3 separate regions of the Homo sapiens genome follow, and all the other regions are linked to region 2. The links are contacts of gene promoters, found by promoter capture Hi-C in blood cells and fetal thymus (Javierre and others, 2016). All regions are on one chromosome and are shown on one strand. The core of a region is centred on a gene start or on the middle of the fragment in contact, and the rest is flanking DNA. Distances in the headings are between cores, read along the strand shown.

Evidence for each region. The method cuts DNA at HindIII sites, captures the fragments that hold promoters and counts their contacts. A CHiCAGO score of 5 or more calls a contact.
Region 1: the fragment with the promoter of CLNS1A here is called in contact with the fragment with the promoter of GDPD4 in region 2 in 2 of 17 cell types (neutrophils and M0 macrophages); the score reaches 9.2 in neutrophils.
Region 3: a contact is called between a fragment that was not itself captured here and the fragment with the promoter of GDPD4 in region 2, in 3 of 17 cell types (M2 macrophages, M1 macrophages and neutrophils). The highest score is 5.8, in M2 macrophages.

Annotation. Positions count from the first base shown.
Region 1 is chr11:77,636,172-77,639,839 of GRCh38, forward strand. CLNS1A (chloride nucleotide-sensitive channel 1A) reads right to left here and starts at 1,623. Exons shown (of 7, transcript NM_001293.3): 1 at 1,419-1,623. The coding sequence starts at 1,543. It overlaps LOC107984369 (a long non-coding RNA gene), which reads left to right and starts at 3,637. Exons shown (of 3, transcript XR_001748072.1): 1 at 3,637-3,668. RefSeq lists enhancers at 1,351-1,870, 1,525-1,764. The HindIII fragment of the contact is 10,516 bases long and covers 1-3,668 here.
Region 2 is chr11:77,300,253-77,303,612 of GRCh38, forward strand. GDPD4 (glycerophosphodiester phosphodiesterase domain containing 4) reads right to left here and starts at 1,434. Exons shown (of 17, transcript NM_182833.3): 1 at 1,353-1,434. The HindIII fragment of the contact is 12,830 bases long and covers 1-3,205 here.
Region 3 is chr11:77,593,032-77,596,477 of GRCh38, forward strand. The region is part of intron 1 of AQP11 (aquaporin 11); the gene reads left to right. Among named protein-coding and RNA genes, the nearest start is that of AQP11, 4.8 kb to the left of the region's middle. RefSeq lists a silencer at 1,180-1,380. The HindIII fragment of the contact is 889 bases long and covers 1,563-2,451 here.

The DNA.
Region 1 (3,668 bases), core at 373-2,872, 340 kb after region 2:
GTGATCCTCCCACCTCAGTTTCCTGAGTAGCTAGGACTACAGGCCGCCACCATGCCTGGCTAATTTTTGTATTTTTTGTAGAGACTGGGTTTCGCCATGCTGCCCAGGCTGATCTCAAACTCCTGGGCTCAAGCGATCTGCCTGCCTCAGCCTCCCAAAGTGCTGGGATTACAGGTGTGAGCCACCGCGCCCGGCCCAACACGGTCATATGTACAACTACTCCACACATGTCCTGACCAAACTCATTATCTGCCTCTCACCTCAATCTTGCTTTTCCTCCCATCCATATGTCCTATCTCAGTTTCTGGCCTGAAGCCTAAACCTTGTTCAATGTCTAAATTTCCCTTTAAAGCAGAGGTTCTTTACAGTTTTTGTGCTCTGGATTCTGTAGTAGGCAGAATTTTGGCCCCACGACCTTCACTTTCTGGTGTCATGCGGGTGAATATGTTATATTACACAGCAAAAGGGACTTCACAAACGTAATTAAGGTTACCAGTCGACAGTAACATAGGGAGATTATCCTGGATTTTACAGGTGGTTCCAAAGTAATCACATGAGCTCTTAAAAGTAGAGAATTTTCTCTGGCTGTAGACAAGTGATGGAGCAAAAGGGGAAGCAACACATATCTGAAGGGCAGGAAAGATTCGATGTGTCATTACAGGCTTCAAAATAAAGAAAACTGCATGTCAAGGAAACAGGGACCTCTGTTCTACAACCACAATATTTACGGTAGATCTATCTGACTGTCAAAATACCAAAGTGCTCCACGTGGCCAAATAAAAGGGCAATTCCTTCCAGGACCCCAAAACGGGAGTCTGGTCCCTCTGCATATGACCCCTGTCTGTGTCGAGTTAAGGGTGTTCCTCTCCTTACTATACCTACAGAAGAAAATCTTTATTGTGTAACCAAACTTTAAAAGTCCTCCACAGTCGGCTCTGAAACTACGTATCCCAGAGAGGGGAACATCTCCTGCATCTGTTCATCCGGAAAGACAGGCACACTTCAGACCCTTAAAACCAGACCGTGCGTTAAGGGCAACGCACGCGCCAGACCTCCAGTAAATAGGCGAGTTAAAAAAAAAAAAAAAAGAAAATAAAAGAAAGAAAGAAAGAAAAGAAGAAGAAAGAAAGAGAGAAAGAGACAGAGAAAGAGAAAGAGGAAAAAAAGAAAAAAAAAAAAAAAAAGCACAATCCATAAGGGGAAATTCCGGCCGGAGAAAACAGAGAATGGAAGACTCCGGAGGAGTACTAGAAAAATCGAGCCTTCCACCCGCTACAGGTATCCCTGAGGCGTCGGGCACGAGACCCCGCTCCCAGCAGGCCTCCAGGCCGCCCCTTGCCCGGCTCCTTCGCACCGCCTGCTCCAGCAAGGAGGAGGGCGGCGCGCAGGAGGCCAGCGCTGGGGACCAGGAACCCTACCTCTCAGCGATGTAAAGGGTACCAGTGCCGAGGCCCTTCCCGTTCAGCACAGCCTCAGTGTCTGGCTGCTGCCGCAGGAGCCCCTCCGCTGGCCCAGGCGGCGGGAAACTTTTGAGGAAGCTCATAGCAGCAGAGTGCGGCAACACAGGCCCTGAGGGAGTTGGAGCACAGCAATGCGTGCACCACACCGCCCGCCCTGGAAGAGGCAGTCACCCCGGAAGAACAACTTAGTCTGCCCCGGAATCTGAACGCCGTCGACCATAGAGATGAGACATTCTAGGAAAAGCGGCGGAGGTCGGCTAAGAACGTGTGGAGTTTGACCGCGCAACACCCTTCCCCTTCTTCCTCGCCATTTCTGAGGCTTTGGGCTTCAATAACTGAGGGTTCTGTGGGAAGTCCCTCAGGATTGTCACAGTGAAACCACCACTGCAAAATTATAACTGAGACACTGAAAGCGATCTGACCTACCCAAATCCATGTTGTTTCTAACCTCCAAACTGTCCTTGTTCATTGCTGGATATAGGCTGAACTAACTTTGGGAGGAACTTAGTTTACAGTTTGAAGTTTAAAACAAAGATGATGACAGCCTTTTCCCAAAACAAACTTCCTTCTTGCCTGGGGACTGGACTGCCTTTGTAGGACTAACAAATCAGCCACAAGATTAGAAATTATGGTTTAGATTAGAAATTACAGCTGCAAGCTACAAGATTCTGACCCTCCCTAAACTGCACCTAAGATCGGTGCTTGAGATATGTTGCAGACCCTGCACTTGATGGATCAGCTGGCACCACCAGATGGATAAACTGGCTATGTGATCTTGTGCCCCCTCCCCACCAACCCAGGAACTGACTCAGCGCAAGAGGACAGCTTCAACTCCCTGTGACTTCATCTCCCACCCAACCAATCAGCACTCTTGACTCACTGGCCTTCCCCAACCTGCCAAATTATCCTTAAAAACTTGGATCCCTGGCTGGGCGCGGTGGCTCACGCCTGTAATCCCAGCACTTTGGGAGGCCGAGGCGGGCGGATCACGAGGTCAGGAGATCAAGACCATTCTGGCTAACATGGTGAAACCCCGTCTCTACTAAAAATACAAAAAAATTAGCCGGGTGTGGTGGCAGGCGCCTGTGGTCCCAGCTACTGGGGAGGCTGAGGCAGGAGAATGGCGTGAACCCGGGAGGCAGAGCTTGCAGTGAGCCGAGATAGCGCCACTGCACTCCAGCCTGGGCGACAGAGCGAGACCCCGTCTCAAAAAAAAAAAAAAAACAACAAAAAACAAAAAACAAAAAAACTTTGATCCCTGAATGCTCTGGGAAACTGATTTGAGTAAAAATAAAACTCTAGGCCGGGTGCAGTGGCTCATGCTTGTAATCCCAGCACTTTGGGAGGCCGAGGCGGGCAGATCACGAGGACAGGAGATCGAGACCAGCCTGGCTAACACGGTGAAACCCCGTCTCGACTAAAAATACAAAAACAAAATTAGCCGGGCGTGGTGGCAGGTGCCTGTAGTCCCAGCTACTCGGGAGGTTGAAGCGGGAGAATGGCGTGAACCCGAGAGGCGGAGCTTGCAGTGAGCCGAGGTCGCGCCTTGGCACTCCAGCCTGGGCGACAGAGAGAGACTCCGTCTCAAAACAACAACAACAAACTCTAGTCTCCTGCACAGCAGCTCTGCGTGAATTACTGTTTTTCTGTTACAATTTCCATCTTGATAAATCAGCTCTGTCTAGGCAACAGGCAAGGTGAACCCATTGGGCCATTACAGCAGCAACCCTGTTACAACCCTGTAACCCAGTTACATACAACCCTGTTGTAACTGCCCAATGGGATCACCGTGCCTGCTGCTTAGACAGAGCCTATTTATCAAGACAGGGGAATTGCAATAGAGAAAGAGTAATACACCGGTGGCAATGGCTCACGCCTGTAATCCCAGCATTTTGGAGGCCGAGGCGGACGGATCACCTGACGTCGGGAATTCGAGACCAGCCTGACCAACATGGAGAAACCCCGTCTCTACTAAAAATGCACAATTAGCCTGGCGTGGTGGCGCATGCCTGTAATCCTAGCTACTCGGGAGGCTGAGGCAGGAGAATTGCTTGAACCCGGGAGGCGGAGGTTGCGGTGAGCCGAGATCACGCCATTGCACTCCAGCCTGGGCAACAAGAGCGAAACACTGTCTCAAAAAAAAAAAAAAAAAAAAAAAAAAACAAAGAGAGAAAGACTAATACATGGAGTCCCTTGCCAAAGGATGCA
Region 2 (3,360 bases), core at 184-2,683:
ACACTAGCCAATAGGGGAACGACACAGCAGCAGGGGCCACGTGTGTCAGGAATAAGAACCCCTTCCCCTCCCTTGTCCAAGTGTGTGCTCACCATTGCTCCATATGTAAGGGTGCACCCTTCTATAGAAGTATATTGCCTTGCTAAGAATTAAAAAGAAAATTTTATATTTGAGTGCTATTTCTTTTGCGGCACCGAAACTATAACAGTACCCAATCACCTAGTCTCTAAGGGAGAAATGGACAAATGCATAATCATGGTAGGAGATTTAACACACCTCTTAAAAAAAAAACAGAATAAGCAGAAAAAAAGTCTGTAAGGATATAGACGACTGTAAAAGTTGATTAACTAGTCTTAACATTTATAGAACACTGTACTCAACAAATGCAGAGTGTACTTTAAAATGGACATGGAATATTTATCAAAAATCACAATTGGTTTTAATAAACCTTGACATCTTAAGAATATATCTTCTGACTACAGTGCAATTTAACTGGAAATCAGTAAGAAAAACAAATTGCACATTTGGGAATTAAACACACAGAAACCTACGCATGGTCAAAGAAAAATCACAATGGAAATGAGAAAAAAACTTTCAGTTGGTTAATGATGAAACTACTGCATATATATAGAACTTGGTGTGACTAATTGCAAATACTGGGGTGTCCAAGGGCAGACGTTATGAACAAAAAGCTCTATGGGAGGATGGTAAGCTGCTTGGATATCGAATAAAAGGCAGCTTTTTAACCAGAATAATTACCACCACCATTGTCTACACACCTGCAGATACTTTGTGTCTAAGCACCAGCCAGCGTAGCCACGTTTACATGAAAATTCCTAATATTTAAGGGGAGATCGAGAAACACTGTTTCCTTCCCAGAGCTCTTCTCTGAATTCTACACTCATATATCCGACAGGCTACTGAAATCTCCATTTGGATTTCTCACAGGCACCTCAAAAGTAATATGTCCAAAACTGAACCCCTGATGTTTTTTCCCTCTAAAATCGATTCCTCCTGCAATCTGTCCCATCTCAGTAAAGGTCACCGCCATTCCCCAGCTCATGAGATCAAAACCCAAGGGTTGCCGCCCAGGATTGGCATAGTCGAAGCTGATTTTTATCCCCTTCGCCATTAACAACTAGAAAACTAGAAAATACACGAAGCCGCTACTGTCAGATACTGAACAGGAGGTCCAGGCCCGTAATCCTCGAGAGGGGACACAAACGACCCGACAGAGTGAGCGAACAACGTCAAAGGGCCTCAAGTTTGGCCGCCGACTAATAATACTAATAGAACTTCCTGCTTCTGGTGCTGCTTAGGGAGGAAGCACGGAACTGGGCACATTTACTTACCGAGACTTCCCAGTCCCAACCCAAATCCAATCTTCACGCCTGAGGAGACCAGCGTCTCTTAAGATGGACGCCTGGCTGGAAGGGCAGCCCGAGGGAGGCGGGGCGGGAGGGGGCGGCCTGGCGGGGCTGTGGGCGTGGTCAAGGACACCCCGTGCCAGAGCAAGGCTGAAGCTAAGGCCAGACCCCCAGCCTTGGCTCAGAGCCCCACCTTTTAAATGTCCGGTAAGGTATGCTCTCTTTGTTTTTGGTTTGGTTTGGTTCTTACAAAAAGAACTTGACTGTTTAAGTTTAGTCCTTGTTAATAACTTAGTTCAAGCATTACCAATTTTTTGTATCCCAGTTATTCATAAAATTGCCATATATATATATACATCTATCTATATATTTATATATTTTTTAAGAGACGGGGTCTTGTCGCCCAGTCTGGGCCTCAAACTTGGGCTCAAGCAGCCTCCTGCCTCAGCCTGAAGAGTAGCTGGGACTACAGCCCTGTGCCCCCCAGCCACCACGCCCAGGCTACCTCTTTATTTTATTTTATTTTTAACTATTTTTTCTGCCTTTTTAAAACAAATTTTTAATTTTTATGGGTACATAATAAGTGTATTATTTATACAACTCATAGTAGGAATACATGAGATATTCTGATAAAGGTATACAATGTGTAAGAATCACATCAGGAGGCCAGGCACAGTGGCTCACGCCTGTAATCCCAGCAGTTTGGGAGGCCGAGGCAGGTGGATCACCTGAGGTCAGGAGTTCGAGACCAGCCAGGCCAACATGATGAAACCCTGTCTCTACTAAAATACAAAAAAATTAGCCGGGCACAGTGGTGGATTCCTGTAATCCCAGCTACTCAGGAGGCTGAGGCAGGAGAATCACTTGAACCTGGGAGGCAGAGGTTGTAGTGAGCCGAGATAGCACCACTGCACTCCAACCTGGGCAACAAGAGTGAAACTCCATCTAAAAAAAAAAAAGAATCACATCAGGTACACTGAGTATCCATCACCTAAGCATTTATCATTTCTTTGGGTTATGAACGTTCCAGTTACACTCTTAGTTATTTTTAAAAATGTTCAATAAATAATTGCTGACTGTAGTCGCCTTGTTGTGCTGTCAAATATTAGATCCTATTTATTCTAACTATATATCTGTTGTACCCAGTAACCATCCCCACTTTGCCTTACCTTTTTTAAACCAGTTTCAACCACTCAAAGGGCCACAAATGGGCCTGTTTTCGCTTTTGTTTGTTTAATCTTTGATTCCTCTAGCCATTTCTCTGACTCTGACCTCGTTCCTGAGCTCTAGACCTTTATCTCCAACTGCCAGCCACTGGCCTTCAATCTGGCCGTCCTGCTGCAGACACCTCAAACTCAGTAAACCCTAACTTAAATTCATTATCTTTCCCTTCATGTCTGCTCCATCTTCTATGGCTCTAAATCACTAAATGACAAGATGTGAAACAGATGTCTCATCCTCAACTCCTCCTATTCCTTTGCAACCCCCCAACCCTCCACCTTACACAGAGTGACCAAATTCTGCTTATTAGGATACTTCCTATTTCGCCTAGTCATTATCTTATTGCATTTCAATGCCCACTAGGCCCTAATCATCTCAGTACATGCCAACCCAGCTTAATACCGCTACGTTAAGGTAGACTGCAGCAGACTCCCAAAGCGCCTCACTGTTTCCAGTTTACCTCTCCCAAAATCTAAGACCAACTGTTGATCTTTTAAAAATGCAAATCTGACTATGCCTAAAACACATTCCAAAAATTAAAGCTCCTTAAATTGGATCTCACCTTTCTCTCCAGCCTCAACTTGCCCCCAACTCTCCTCCATCACCACTTACATTGAAGCTTCAGCAAAGCAAACCTCTTGTTCTACTCCCCTACACCATTCTGTATGTTTATTCACGCTGTCCCTACTGGCAGGCTTATACACTCCCAAAGTTGACCGGGCTAACACTCCTTCTCTTAGTGTGAGGCTCAATTCAGGAAGCCTTCTTTGTT
Region 3 (3,446 bases), core at 757-3,256, 290 kb after region 2:
GCTGCATGTGGCTGTTTACACTTAAATTAACTGAAATTAGATTCAGAGTAGCCACATTTCAAGTGGTCAGTTGTCAAATTGTGCTGTAGCTAGTGGGTACAGGATTGGACAGTGCTAGAGTCTGTTTGCATGGGTAGAACAAAATAGACAATTGTTGATTACTATTAGTTACAGAAATTTATAATGCAGTATGATCTTCCCTTTGTTTGTTTTCTGCCAATATAAGGGAGATAAGAATATTCAGTTGTCAGCTGTTATAGGCCAAGCATTTTGCAAGGAAATTTATGAGAGTTATCTTAATTAATTCTTACAACAACCCATCGGCCGGGCGCGGTGGCTCACGCCTGTAATCCCAGCACTTTGGGAGGCCGAGGCGGGCAGATCACGAGGTCAGGTGATCGAGACTATCCTGGCTAACACGGTGAAACCCCGTCTCTACTAAAAAATACAAAAAAATTAGCCAGGCATGGTGGCGGGTGCCTGTAGTCCCAGCTACTGGGGAGGCTGAGGCAGGAGAATGGCATGAACCCGGGAGGCAGAGCTTGCAGTGAGCCGAGATCGAGTCATTGCACTCCAGCCTGGGAGACAGAGCGAGAGAGCGAGACTCCGTCTCAAAAAAAAACAAAAACAAAAAAAAACAACCCATCGATGAATATATTCTTCCCATTTTAAGTAAAGTAAGTGAGGCCCAGAAAAGTGAAATGACTTATCTAAGCTTACATAACTAGACTGTGTTAGAACTATGGTTCCAACTGGCACTAAAGCTCATACGGATTCATTATCAGCATTTCCACAGTGTGCTCCTCAAAAGTTAACAAAACTATACACAATTGAATATATTCAGCCATAAAAAGGAATGAAGTTATGATGTATACTACAACATGAATGAACCTCAAAAACAATATGCCAAGCAAAATAAGCCAGACACAAAAAGACAAATACTGTATGGCTCTACATATACAAAATATCTAGATTAGGCAACTTCATAGAGACAGAAAGTAGAATAGAGTTACCAGGGACTGTGGGGAGGAGGGAGGAATGGGGACTTATTGTTTAATGGGTACAAAGTTTCTGTTTATGTTATGAAAACCTTTGGAAATGGTGCTGCTGGTGAAACAGCATGGTGAATGTAACACCAATGACTTATACACTTAAAAATGGCTAAAATGGCATACTTTATGGTATATATATATTTCACCATAATTTATACAATTTTTAAGTTACAAAATGATGTTGTTGCCAAATAAATTTGGCAGACACTGGATTAAACAGGTTTTCTAATTTTAAGACTTCATAGAGCCTTTACTATGCTTCTAAGTATTGTGAAACTCCAAGAGGAGGATTTGGAGCACAGTTTTTCAAACTTACGAGATCCTCTTGTCTAGGAGTGTGTAGCAGAAGAGAACATACTTTGGGAAATGCTGCACTAAGTCCCATCTCTCCCTTTTATTTTCTATGGCTATAAGTCATAACTTTGGAACAGAGTTGTTACAAATAGGACTGTCTTGGGACAGTTGGCTAAGTCAGGCATCATTACAAGTTATTATGATATGTCTTTTTTAAGCTTCTAGGATACTACAAGTACAGATTTGACAAAGGTGCACCTTGGGAGATTTCTTTAATCACTTGCATTTTGAGGGCACTGAGAAGTCACCAATACAGGGTACATCAAAATAACTTATGTATTTTAGGATTACAGAACATAAGCATCCAGCAACATAGCCACAGGCTCCTAAGGATAGCCAGTGACCAAGTGTCTGTGTATTTATTGATTTAGCACCCCAAATTTTGATGGCACATGGAGCCCCAGTTATGTCATTGCCATTTATCGTGTATTAACTGGCTCCCCTAATCGTGTAAAAAAAAAAAAAGCTGTGCGATTTATTAACATATTAGAGCTATAAACTGTTAATCAGATTTCAAGCAAATCTTCCTTACTTTGGGTTCTGGAAGAATTTAGTTCAATGAACAGTTTGAGAGAGAGCTGCATTCATTTTTTATGCATAATTAGATATTGAAAAACACCTGGGCCGGGTGTGGTGGCTCACGCCTGTAATCTCAGCACTTTGGGAGGCCGAAGTGGGTGGATCACCTGAGGTCAGGAGTTTGAGACCAGCCTGACCAACATGGAGAAACCCCACCTCTACTAAAAATACAAAATTAGCTGGGCATGCTTGCGCATGCCTGTAATCCCAGCTACTCAGGAGGCAGAGACAGGAGAATCGCTTGAACCTGGGAGGCAGAGGTTGCAGTGAGCTGAGGTCGTGCCATTGCACTCCAGCCTGGGCAACAAGAGCAAAACTCCATCTCAAAAAAAGAAAAAAAGAAAGAAAAACATCTGTTATTTTACACGTCAGTTGTCTTTATTACCACATACTGCTCATTTCTTTCATAGAATTTTAAATTATATTGTTTTCTGACACAATGCCTGTTTTCCTCTACCAGATGACAAGCTTTGAGTCTGTAGACCACATTTGTTTTATTTGTCATAACATATATCAAGATCTTAGCATAGGACCTGGTACAAAGTAAATGTATTTTTAGAATAAGTGAACGAACTAGCAAATAGTCTGTTTACTCTAAAAAACTGTACAGGAAGAAATAATATGGCCGGGCAGGATGGCTCACGCCTGTAATCCCAGCACTTTGGGAGGCAGAGGCAGGCGGATCACCTGAGGTCGGGAGTTCGAGACCAGCCTGACCAACATGGAGAAACCCTGTCTCTACTAAAAATACAAAATTAGCTGGGTATGGTGGTGGGCACCTGTAATCCCAGCTACTTGGGAGGCTGAGGCAGGAGAATCGCTTGAACCCGGGAGGTGGAGGTGGGAGGATCCCCTGAGCCCTGGAGGCGGAGGTTGCTGTGAGCCAAGATCATGCCACTGCACTTCAGCCTGAGCAACAGAGCAAGACTCAGTGTCAAAAAAAAAAGAGAGAAGGGAACATATGTTCTTTTTAAATAGGAGCTATTATCAATTTACAAATGAAAAACACCTTCAAAGGTCCAAAATTTATTTTGTTATGCCAGTATAATATAGTGGTTAAGGCCAGGTGTAGTGGTTCATGCCTATAATCCCAGCACTTTGGGAGACGGAGGCGGGCGGATCACCTGAGTTCAGGAGTTCAAGACCAGCCTGTTGATTCATAATCTGAATCAACATGACCACCCACAGCCTATTCATTATCGTCACTACTCTACTATTCTTTAACCAATTCAACGCCAACATGGTAAAGCCCCATCTCTCCTAAAAATACAAAAATGAGCCTGGCATGGTGGCGGGCGCCTGTAATCCCAGCTGCTTGGGAGGCTGAGGCAGTAGAATTGCTTGAACCTGGGAGGCGGAGGTTGCAGCGAGCTGATATCACACCAGTGCACTCCAGCCTGGGCAACAGAGCGAGACTATGTCTCAATTAAAAAAAAAAAATATATATATATATGTAAATAT